2 separate regions of the Homo sapiens genome follow, and region 2 is linked to region 1. Evidence: promoter capture Hi-C in 16 types of primary human blood cells and fetal thymus (Javierre and others, 2016). All regions are on one chromosome and are shown on one strand. Each heading gives the region's core, a stretch centred on a gene start or on the middle of the fragment in contact. The rest is flanking DNA. Distances are from core to core; before and after follow the strand shown.

Region 1 (6,150 bases), core at 2,497-4,996:
TCCCACCTGAACCTCCCGAGTAGCTGGGACTATAGGTGCAGCCGCCGTGCCCAGCTAATTTTTTTATTTTTTGTAGAGGCGGAATTTCATCATCTTGCTCAGGCTGGTCTCAGGACTCAAGCGATCCGCCCACCTCTGCCTCCCAAAGTGTGCCCGGCCAAAGCTGAAAATTTTAATGTCTGAGGTCCGTTTGTATTTTTTTTTTTCCCAGAGAGCTACCTTCTAATATTCTTTGTCATGTTCCATGCGTTTGTTCACCTTTTTCTAAATTACTGATTTATAAAAAGCTTTTTGTTAAGGAAAATAGCCCTTTATATTTGTAACACAAATATTTTTCCAGTTTATTTACCATATTTATGTTTTGTTTGATATCAAACTTAGACCTTTCTACTCCAAAAACTATTGGAAACAAAATCCATCTATTGTTTTCTAACATTTTAATGGTTTCATTTTTTATTTTAAAATATTTGATCCATGTGTAATCTATTTTGGCATAAGCAATAAGGCAAAAACCCAAGTCTCATTTTTTTCCAAATGGTTAGCCAGTTATCCTCAAATGGTTTGTTGACTAATCCATATTTTTCCCCATTGATTTGAAATGCTGAAATGTCGTTTTTCTTGTTTAGTAAATTTTCTTATGTACTTAGGTCTATTTCCAGACTTTCTGTTGGTTTGTACCTTCCCCCATATCATACCCTTGCATGCATATCTGTGAGGGAGGAAAATAGGGTAGTGTTCCAGAAGAGAAAAAACTTAGAGACAGGCAGCTATCTTAAAAATAGCTCCTGATCACATCACTGCACTCCAACCCGGGCGACAGAGCAGACCCTGTCTCTCACACGCACAAAAAAAATACCTCATGTTGGAAGTTCTCTGAACCTTTATTGGTTCAGGGCGCATCTCCATAAAAAAATTTAAAACAAAAACACCTTGTGTTATCATGGAGAAGAAAAATACTTGTGTACCTCTAGAGGCAGCACTATCGATACTGGCGTGGAACAACAGGTTTTAATTGCATCAGAATGAAGAACTTTCTAGAAACCACATATATTCAACGATGCACTGTTGCCTCAAATGTCGTCATTTCCTGGCCACTAACAAAGAAATTATATAGCGGATTCAAGAATTTCATAGGAGGCTGGACTCCTAGTTTGTAAAATCCTTCTTTACAATTCTCATTTTATAACAAACCAAGTTATACGCTCTACAGATACTAAAGGAAATAAACATACTTCTCGAGAAAGCTGTTTTGCCAATACGGTAACACTAAACTAAAAGAAAACAGAACTTTCTAAATCTCACCAATCCTCGTCCTCCTCCGGCTCTTGCAAGCGGGGCAGCTCTTTTTTGCACCCATCCATGTCTGTAGTGAAAGACAAAGATACACTTTCTTAAGAAAGCCAGAACTCGGCCGGGCGCAGTGGCTCACGCCTATAATCCCAGCACTTTGGGAGGCCGAGGCGGGCAGATCACAATGTCATGAGATCGAGACCATCCTGGCTAACACGGTGAAACCCTATCTCTATTAAAAATACAAAAAATTAGCCAGGCGTGGTGGCGGGCGCCTGTAGTCCCAGCTACTCGAGAGGCTGAGGCAGGAAAATGGCGTGAACCCGGGAGGCAGAGCTTGCAGTGAGCCGAGATTGTGCCACTGCACTCCAGCCTGGGCCACAGAGCTAGACTCCATCTCAAAAAAGAAAAAGAAAAAGAAAATAAAATAAAAAGAAAAAAAAAAGAAAGCCAGAACTCAAAAGCAGAGACATCTCTACATTTACATTCTGCATTTATCTTTGGGTATCTTCCCCACCTTAAAGCCGAAACTTTGCTCTGCAAAATGAAAAGGATTTAAATTTGTTTTGTTGCAAACTTTTCCCACTCAGGCCTCTACCACCCCAATCTCTTCCCACCCTGCACCCGCCCCCACTTCCCACTCCCTCCACTCCCACCTCAACTTGCCAGTCTTCCACGTATCAGGGCTCGACCGCCCCCACATCCCACTGGCCCTCCACCTCCCTACAACCTTCAGTCCCCCTACTCCTGCCCCAAGGAAGTCTCCCACCTACCGGGTGTCAACCTCTCCCCCTTCCCCTACCTCTTTACTCCCCACTCTGTCAATCTTACCCAGAATAGGCTACCACCGCCCCCTCATCACCTTCTTCCTTCTGTCCAACCTCCACTGCCCCCTTACCTCCCGCCACTCTGGCTTCTCACTGGTCTTATATGAATCCGGCCACCCCCTCCACGCTTCCTATTCCTGCCTCCAGCCTCTAGCCAATCTTCGACCAAACAGGCCTTGACCCCTCCCCAACTCCTTCCTCCTATCAGGTCTGGACCCTACCCCCACCATTCTCACCTCAGTCTTCCACCAATCAGGCCTCAACCCCACCACCCTTCCCCCACACTCGCACCTCCAACCACCTCCAGCCACCTTCAACTGCTCCCAACCGGTTTTCCAAGCAGGCTTCCACTCCCCCACACTTCTATCCAACTTCTGCCCTACCCCACTCCTGTCTCCCACCACCACTCAGTCCTCAGCCAAAGAGACCTCAACCCCCACACACACACCCCTACCCACAACCACTAGCTCCCACCTCCCCCCAATGCTGCAACGGGCACCCCCACTTCTCCCCACAGCCACTGGCACCCCCACCTCCAATGCCACCACCAGCATCCTCACTTCTCCCCACGCCCACCAGCACCACCACGTGCTCCTAGGCCACTTCCACCACCACCAAGTGTTCCTACGCCGCCACCAGAACCCCCCACTTCCCTCAACGCCCCCATTGGCACCCCCACCTTCAATGCGGCCACCGGCGCCTCCACTTCTCCCCACACCGCCAGCGCTACTATGTGCTCCTATGCCACCAACGCCACCAAGTACTCCTAGGCCGCAACTGGCACCCCCACCTCCCCCCACGCTGCCACTGGCATCCCTACTTCTCCCCACCCGCCACTAGGGACACCACCTGTTCCTACACCACCACTGGGGCCCCCACCTCCCCCCAGTGCCGCAACCAGCGCCCTCACTTCTCCCCGCGCCGCCACCGGCGCCACGTATTCCTACATAGCCACTGGCGCCACCACACGCTCCTACGCCACCACCAGCGCTCCCACTTCCCCCAAGGCCGCCAATGGTGCCCCTACTTCTCCCCACACCGTCACTGGTGCTACCACATGCTCCTACACCACCACCAGCACCCCCACTTCCCCGACACTGCCACAGGCACCCCCACTTCCCCCAACGCCGCCACTGGTGCCCCTACTTCTCTCCACCCGCCACTGGCACCAACACCTCCTTCTACGCCACCACCAGGCCCCCCACTATCTGCAATGACGCCACCAGCGCCCCTTCTCCCCACGCCGCCACTGGCACTACCAGCTGCTCCTACGCCGCCACCGGCGCCCCCACCCCTCCCAATGCCGCCACTGGCGCCACCATATGTTTCCTACACCACCATGGGCGCCCCCACCTCCCCCAATGCTACCACTGGCGCCTCCACTTCTCCCCTCGCTGCCACTTCCTCTACTCCCACCTCAGGCCTACACGGGCAACCAGAGTCCAAGGTATACAGTGGTCCTGATTTTAATTAAGTCACTCAATTAGGATTAACCTCTGGACCACTTCAGCACCCATCTCAGTCCGACCAGCCGGTCACCTACCTGGTGTTGCAGCCTCTGGCGTGGCCGGCAGCAGCTCACCTCCAACTGCCCGTGGAGTGTGTGCAAAGATCCGGAGCAACTGCGATGAACAACGCCAGGCGCAGGCCCCTTTATAGTGCCCGGACCTAGGGGGCGGTAGCAGTAATTCACGTGTGCTCGCCCGCGCTCCCCTGTACCCACCTATCACAGTGGTCACAAGACAAATTTGAACTTCGCGCCTGTGAACTTGGCGCCTAGCTGTAACGCTTCCGGGATCAGGTCTGTCGCTTTCCACTCCCACGGATGTTGCTTATTTGTCCCAAAACCGCCATTTCAATACTAGAGCGTGGGCACCCGAGGCCAATTCTGCGATTAAAAGTCCCTAACAACTTTCTGATAAAGAGAAACCATGTGAAATCGTTCATAACAAACTTTTATCCTGCGAGAACTTGGATAAGCGAGCCTTGTTCCTTACTTGAATTGTCCAGACCTCTAAGTCCGTTATTGCAACCACTGGGAAAGGGCGCGGGGGGAGGGGCGGGGGCACGAGAACTGGAGCGAAGGCGCGGGAGCAGGGGCGTGGACGGGAACACCGAGGGGAGGGCGGGGCGCGGGGGGACGCGGGAGCGCAGGGGGGCGGGGGTTGCAGGGAAGGCCATCTAGACCCCTAGATAAGAGCAAGGCAGCAACTCAACAGCGCCTGGCAACGGCGAACTATGATGTTTACTTCCAGAACCCTCCAAACCCTGGAGATAAAAAAAGGTTACTTGAGGCTTTTTGGCACTCACTCCATACACACCAAGAAAAACAAACGGGGAAAACAGCGCTTTCTAGATTGTGCCAGTTTCTCCAGCGAGCATCTATATATTTCGTAATGTATGCCTTTGGGTAACAGAACACACATAAAATGTCCCTGCGTTTGATACTATTTTGTGCTAAGCATTATTCCAAGTGTCTTACGACTTAATTCATACAACACTTTAAAAAGTAGGCAACTGTTAGCACTCTCATTTTAGAGATCACACAGCTAGAAAGTGGCAGAGCTGGCCGGGCACAGTGGCTCACGCCTGTAACCCCAGCACTTTGGGAGGCTGAGGCGGGTGGATCACGAAGTCAGGAGCTTGAGACCAGCCTGGTCAACATGGTGAAACCCCGTCTCTACTAAAGATAAAAAAAAAAAAATAGCCGCGTGTGGTGGCCCGCGCCTGTAATCCCAGCTACTCGGGAGGCTGAGGCAGGAGAATCGCTGGAACCTGGGAGGCGGAGGTTGCAGTGAGCCGAGATCGTGCCATTGCACTCCAGCATGGGGACAGGGCGAGACTCCATCTCAAAAAAAAAAAAAAAAGTGGCAGAGCTGAGATTCAAACTCCAACTCTAGTTCCAAAACCTGCTCTTAAGCACCAGATTGCCTACCTAAATACAGATACTTTCTCAGTTGATAAAAAAATTGGATAAAGGGGGCTGATTACTCTCTCTCTCTACAATGAAGTTGCAAATTAACCTCTACAAGCCTCTTTATAAGAATGGGGATTACATAACTGTGCCTCAGAGGCTTGGGCAAAGAACCAGGATGTTAGCTATAATTGAGAGGCATATGCTTCAAGTAAAAGAATGGGATAGGTTTGGAATCAAATCTTAAAATGGGCAGTTCAGAAATTACACACATTTACTCAAGGTGTGCAAGCAACTCCTTTAGATTGAAGGCAGGAGGAGCTGAAGTAGACTGGAAATAATGTAGATTTTTCAAGAGAAGCGAATGGGAGTAAAAACTTTTGAGTAGGCTTTCTTCCCATAATAATCTTTTAGGAAACAAACACCAATCCACATGAGGGCTTTAAGAAGTTGGGAATTAAATCATGCAAAATTTTACTGAAAAAAATCTTCCCTCTCATATCTGAGAAAACTGGCAAACAGCATTTGCCATGATATCAATTCATGATATCAATCATGAATTGATATCTTCCTCCCTGATGCTTGTGGCAGAGTTCGACCACTATACAGAGCAGGAAGGAAAATAATTTTGCCCCCAAGAGCCAAGAAAAGAATGGTCCACATGAAAACCGAGACTACAAGGGTAAATGAAAGCAGAGAGGTCACAAGCAAAAGAGGAGCAAGCATGAATGGGTGTGTTGGGGATCACAGGCTTTGTCTTTTTTTTTTTTTGAGATGACATCTCACTCTGTTGTCCAGGCTGGAATGCAATGGCACGATCTCAGCTCACTGCAACCTCTGCCTCCCGGGTTCAAGCGATTCTCCTGTCTCAGCCTCGCATGTAGTTGGGATTACAAGCGTGTGCCACCACTCCCGGCTAGTTTTTTTGTATTTTTAGTAGAGACAGGGTTTCACCATGTTAGCCAGGCTGGTCTTGAACTCCTGACCTCAAGTGATCCACCTGCCTCCGCCTCCCAAAGTGCTGGGGTTACAGGCGTGAGCCACCACACAAGGCCACTTTGCCTTCTTAATGGATCATAAACTAACCCCACCCTCTACCAGACCTGGCTGAGAAAACAA
Region 2 (6,686 bases), core at 1,069-3,568, 290 kb after region 1:
TGTTTTTTCCACTTTATGATGTATCATAAACAGCTTTCATGTCATTAAATCTTTTACGTTAACGGACACAGCATTCAGTTGTCAACCAAGTCCCTATTGTGTTGGACACCTGGGTCGTTTCTAATTTTTCACCATTATAATCAATGCTCATAGCTAAATCTTTGGACATATCCATGATTAAATATTCCTCCCACAATTTTCCATTCTTGCTTATTTAGACATACATTATCATTTCAGTAACTGATAATGCACCCTTGTATATTCAGAGTTTCCTCATTTCTGCTAATGTCAACATAATTGTAATTTTTAATGACTATATAAAGTTCACCAGGATGTACTACTTTACTAAACTACTCCCTACTATAAGACATTTAGGTGGTTGTTTTTGGCTTTTCCTATTATAACGCTGCAGTAAATGTCTTCTGGCTTTCAGCTTTATTTCCATTTAATTATTTCCATAGGATAAATTCTTAAAAATAGAATCTATCCTGTGACTCTTGCCACATAGTGCAACGTCGTTTTCTCAAAAAGTTGTAAGGATTTTAAACGCCATGAGCAGGTGTAGCAGTTTCATGGCAAATGAGATACCTTTAAAAAAAAACAACAAAAAAAGAAAATAGTGTTTTAAAAAATAAGATATAAAAGCAGGAAGTTAAAACATACAAAATCTAAAGTCCACCCTGGAAATAGTTGGGGATGGGGCAAGGTGGGCATCAGAATCAAATCTTTTCCTACTTGGGTTCCAGGTGTTAAACATCTCTCTTCCCCTGGCCCCGGAGAGGCCCAGGATGGAATGCACTAGTGAAGACTATCATAATAAAGCACCTATAACAGTGCCCACCAAGTAGCAAGTACCTTGAGAAGTATTTCTTCCTATCACCTACTTCTGATGACCACCAATATAATTTGGAAATATGTGCAGAACCCTCTTCAGAGTAATAAATTCACTGTCGCCTAAATACTGGGCCTCTGAAAAGAGAACACAGCACGAAGATCAGCAGCAAAGATTACTGTCTACTTGTGTCCCTGAGACTAATAATCCTGATGAAGAATTTTGAGAGAAAACACGTATTGCTGGTTGAGAAAGACTCTAACCACTGGGCATGCTACAGTTAAACAAATGTTTAGGTAGAGGACCAAACACTACATCACACATATCTGAAATCTAAATCTGGTATAAATTTACAAGACTGAGATGGCTGCCTGGATGGCCAGCCTGAAAGCTGTAAAATGAACTAAGGTCCTTCTCTAAGAGTTTCTTAGGACTTTTCATTTAATAACAAGGAAGGTGGACAAGGACACAGTATAAATATAACCAGGGCCCCCCCACTAGAGTTGCCAGATTTAGCAAATAAAATACACAACCCACAATTAAATTTGAAATTTAATTGAAAACTATGCAACATATACTTAAAAATAATTGGTTGTGTAGGTGAAATTCTAATTCAACTGGGTGCCCGGTGTTTTGTCTGGCAACCCTATCCCTTCCTTACACCTACCTCAACTTCGATTGCAGACAGCAAAGTGCCTCCCAGTTCCCTCTAACCTCGACTTCTCTGTTAAAAACACAAAGAAACGTGTCAGGTTATGGTAAGAGTTTCTCAAACTGGAAAATAAAATACTCGATGCGAAATCCATAAATTTAAGTTTCATTTTAAAAAGTGATGCTATATAAATGCGTCAAGGAGCTAGGCGGTTAGGACTTTAGAAAAAGGGCATACAGAAATCTGACTACGAAAGCGGCGGGCTCTGGATATGCAGAGGAACTTTCCAGCTAAGAGTTTTGACAAAGAAATATCGCTTGAGGGGCCCCACTTGCCCATTCTGAATTAATGGCCTCGCGGGGCCGAGAGGAGGAGCGCCCGACAAAGCGCCTCCTCCTCTAACCAACCACGACTTCAGCGATCTCTCATAATAGACCCCACACCGTCGGGCCCAGGGCGGCTCAGAGGCCGGCAACTTACTGACACGGGTAAGATTCGGAGATGAGTTGCACAAAGAAACAGGGCAGGAACGAAAATGGGGAAAGCCCGAAGCGAAGCGAGTTGAGAAAGGTGGCCCCCCGCGGGTGGGCTGAGAAGGCAGTGTGGCGGCAGAGACAAGGCCTCAAGGGGCCTCGGAAGCGCCATCCACCCTCCAAACCTAGCTTCGCCCTAGCCTCTTCCTTCGCTGATTGTTCCAAGAAATCCCACTACCCTCCCAAACAAGAACCAAGACGTCCCAAAACTCACCCTCTACCGACTGGTATCTCCTCGGAGTAACGGCGACGCTACACGGCCTCTCCCGTCCCGAGAAAAGAGCGCGCGACCGCCGGAAACGAGACGACGGAGCTCGGTGCCTGCCAAGGGGTACAAAATGGCGTTCTCGATTGGTTAGCTAAACTGCCAATCAAGGTTTAGCTCCCGAGGCGGAATCATTTTTCCGCCATTTCTTAGATTCTATTGGCTGCCGAATGCCAAAGGCTTGAGTTCGTGTGAACGACAGATGGGGACAAAGAGCGAGGCTTTGTACCTAATGCGCATGTGCAAGCGGCCTGGCGCGTGAGACGGGAAAGGAAAGGGGGAGGGGGAAAAGGAAAGGGAGAGGAGCTGGGGGTGGGGGTCGGAAGGAGAGACCTAAACGAACTGACTGAAAGACTGAAAGACCAAGTGGTGGGAGGGGGAAAGGAGAGGAGAAAAAGGGAGAGGAAAGTGGAAAGAGGGAGAGGAAGGGGAGAAAATGCGCGCGTAGGCGTGCTCGGAGCAGTCCTGCACTGCGCCTGTGCAAGAAGCAAGAGTAACAATGTCATTGTATTCAATGGAATAGATTTGGCCTTTTCCTACTGAAAAAAATGCCCCGCCATGTTTCTTTTTTCACACTTCCTTGTTAGGGCTTGCATCCTGACACCCCATACTTAATCATATTTCTAGATGCTTCTCCTGTTGCTGGGGCTACTCGGGAAACGCAACTGAAATAGTCAACTCTTTGGTCATGGTTACAGACGGGGTGGGGGAGGAGGGGGTGCATCATACCTTAGGCTCTGCGTGATTACACAGAATTGTAACCAGCACCCTCATTTCCATGGTAACCAGAAAACCTAGCAGTCCAAACATCACTATTGTTCCTATGATTTACTGAGAGATTCAACAGGTGTCATCATTGCCATGGATATATTGTAGGCCTCTAGATCAGACTGTATATTCCATAGGAGGCCTATCAGTAACTAACCTTCATTGTTTCAGTAATGCCTAACTCGCCCCGCCCCCGTGGTTAACCAAGGACTACAAGGATCAATTGATAAGTATGTGTTGTTAATTCCCATTAATTAATTCACACTCAGGGTTGCAGGGTATCCCAATGGGCACCACCTTATGTGGGGACACAATGATCTAGACTTGGGCTGTTCAATAGAACTGTGTGCAATGATGGAAAGGTCCTATGTCTGCTGTGTTCAATATGGCAGCTACTAACTATAAGTGGCCATTGAAATATGACTAATGCAACTGAGAACCTGAATTTTTAATTCCGGCTAGGTGCAGTGCTCATGCCTATAATCCCAGTACTTTGAGAGGCCGAGACGGGAGGATCGCTTAAGCCTAGGAGTTCGAGACCAGCCTGGGTAACATGGCGAAACTCCATCTCCGAAAAAAAGCAAAAATTAGCCTGTCGTGGTGGAGTGTCCCTGTAGTCCCACCTACTCAGGAGGTTAAGGTTAAGGTGGGAGGATAGCTTGAGCTCGGGAAGCAGAGGCTGCAATGAGTGGAGATCGCGCCACTGCACTCCAGCCTGCGTGACAGAGTGAGACCCCGTCTCAATTAAAAAGAAGAAGAAGAAAACTAATACTTACTCATAGAAAAAAAAAGAAAAATCAAACAATACCCAACAGTATAAAGAGAAAAGTCTTGGCCGGGTGTGGTGGCTCACGCCTGTAATCCTAGCACTTTGGGAGGCCGAGGCGGGAGGATCACGAGGTTAGGAGATCGAGACCATCCTAGCTAACATGGTGAAACCCCGTCTCTACTAAAAATACAAAAAAAAAATTAGCCGGCGTGGTGGCGGGTGCCTGTAGTCCCAGCTACTCGGGAGGCTGAGGCAGGAGAACGGTGTGAACCCAGGAGGCGGAGCTAGCAGTGAGCCAAGATTGCGCCACTGCACTCCAGCCTGGGCAATGAGTGAGACTCCGTCTCAAAAAAAAAGTCTCCCCCCCATTCATTCTCTAGAGATAGCAATTATGACCACTTTCTTGCGTTTCTATTTTCTATGTATGTACTGTTTATATTTATTTACTTAGAGACAGTCTTGCTCTGTCACCCAGGCTGGAGTGCAGTGGCACAAACACAGCTCACTGCAACCTCTGCCTTTCAGGTTCTAGCGATTCTCCCACCTCAGCTTCCTCAGTAGCTGGGACTACAGGAGTGCACAACTACGCCCACGGTGGGTTTGTATGTTTTGTAGAGACAGGGTTTCACCATATTGCCCAAACTGGTCTTAAACTCCTGGGTGTAAGGAATCCCGCCTCCACTTGGCAAAGTGCTGGGATTACAGGCATGAGCCAGGGCACCCAGTGGAGGACCACTTTTTTTTTGGCGGCGGGACGGAGTCTCGCTCTGTCGCCCAGACTGGAGTGCAGTGGTGTGATCTCGGCTCGCTGCAGCCTCTGCCTCCCAGGTTCAAGCGATTCTCCTGCCTCAGTTCCCGAGTAGCTGGGATTACAGGTGCCTGCCACCGTGCCTATGCCCAGCCAATTTTTTTTTTTTGAGACAGAGTCTTGCTCTGTCGCCCAGGCTGGAGTGCAGTGGCGCGATCTCAGCTCACTGCAAGCTCCGCCTCCCGGGTTCACGCCATTCTCCTGCCTCAGCCTCCCGAGTAGCTGGGTCTACAGGCACCTGCCACCACGCCCGGCTAACTTTTGTATTTTTAGTACAGACAGGGTTTCACCATGTTGGCCAGGCTGGTCGCAAGCTCCTACCTCAAGTGATCCGCCCACCTCGGCCTCCTAAAGTGCTAGGATTACAAGCGTGAGCCACTGTGCCTGGCCAGGACTACTTTTTAATATCAAACATTTTACAGATTGCCACATGATAGTTTTTAGTATCTGCTGAGTGAGAAAATCCATAATTACAAAAAACCACTATGGATTCAATAAAATTTTAATGAATTTATACGTTGTTAATCAAATAAGTGTAAAGATGTTCATGTAAACCAATAATTGCAATACCTTACACAAATAAAATAATAGTAGCATATTGGAGGTACAGTAGCAGTAAAGGGTAACATGGATCTGCTTGAGTAGATCAGGAATGGCTTCGCAGGAAAGAACACCCTTGAATTGGTTTATATATTTATTTATTTATTTTGACACAAGATCTGGCTGTCACCCAGGCTGGAGAGCAGTGGCATGAACACAATTCACTGCAGCCTTGACCTCCTGGGCTCAAGCAATCCTCCTACCTCAGCCTCCAAGTGGCTGGGACTACAGACACTCACGACCACACTCGGCTAATTTGTTTGTTTGTTTGTAGAAACGTGGTTTTGCCATGTTGCCCAGGCTGGTCTTAAACTCCTGAGCTCAAGCCATCCTCCTGCCTCAGCCTCCCAAAGTGCTGGGATTACAGGCATGAACCACCTTGCCTGATCTGAATTGGTTCTTGACCAAGAGGATGAAGTCAAAAAGGTCAATGTGCAAAGTGTCAGAGGCAGAATGATACATGTTTTGGGTAGTTTTTCATGGCTGAAGAGAAGTGGGGGTGCTGAGTGATAGGAAGTTAGGCTAGAGACATAGGCAAAGACCAAAAAATTAAGGCCCTGTGCTATGCTTAGAAGTTTGTACTTTAATCTGTCAGTGATGGGGAGCCATTGAAGGGTTTTAAAAAATAATTTATATTGCTTTTTCTGATTATAAAAGTAATATATGCTCTTTGAGGGAAAAATTGGAAAATGCACAGAAGAATAAAAATCATCATAATCCCACTGTCCAGAAATAATTTTTAATATTTTGGTATTTTTTTCTTCCAGGTATACACACACATAGATAGATAGATAGATAGATACATACATACATACATACATATATAGATACATAAATATATAGATGGAATGATAGATATATAGAGACAGAGACACAGAGACAGAGAAAATCATTTTTTCCATCTGTGATAGGATTGAATTTTAGAAAATCACTGTGTTCGTTTCCTGAGGCTGTTGTAACAAATTACCACAAATTTGGTGGCTTAAAACAAGAGAAATATATTTTCTCACAGTTCTGGAGGACAGAAGTCTGAAATCATTATCACTGAGATGAAATCAAGGTGTTGGTAGGGGCATATTCCTTCTAGAGGCTCTAGGGGAGAATCTGTTTCTTGTCTCTTCTGGCTTCTGGTGGCTGCCGGCATTCCTTGGCTTGTGGCCCTTTCACTCCAGTCTCTGCCTCCATCATCACATGGCCCTCTCCTCGTCTCTGTGTGTCAAATTTCTCTCTCTGTTATCAGGACATTTGTCATTGCATTTAGGGCCCACCTGGATAATCTCTCTATCTCAAGATCTTTAACTTAATCATATCTGCAAAGTCCTTCTTTTCTGCCATATAAATTAACACTGATAGGTTCCAGGGAAGAGGACATGGATATAACCCTGGGAACAGAGTGTAGAATAGATTGGAGGAGATATGCTAGGAGATAGGGACACCAATTAGGATACAATGATGATAA

Evidence for each region. The method cuts DNA at HindIII sites, captures the fragments that hold promoters and counts their contacts. A CHiCAGO score of 5 or more calls a contact.
Region 2: a contact is called between the fragment with the promoter of NONO here and the fragment with the promoter of GCNA in region 1, in 1 of 17 cell types (naive CD4 T cells). The highest score is 5.4, in naive CD4 T cells.

The regions. Positions count from the first base shown.
Region 1 is chrX:71,576,033-71,582,182 of GRCh38, reverse strand. GCNA (germ cell nuclear acidic peptidase) reads right to left here and starts at 3,746. Exons shown (of 13, transcript NM_052957.5): 1 at 3,661-3,746; 2 at 1,303-1,363. The coding sequence starts at 1,361. RefSeq lists an enhancer at 2,898-3,539. The HindIII fragment of the contact is 6,206 bases long and covers 290-6,150 here.
Region 2 is chrX:71,279,267-71,285,952 of GRCh38, reverse strand. It overlaps NONO (non-POU domain containing octamer binding), which reads right to left and starts at 2,318. Exons shown (of 12, transcript NM_007363.5): 1 at 2,232-2,318; 2 at 1,500-1,556. The HindIII fragment of the contact is 27,969 bases long and covers 1-6,686 here.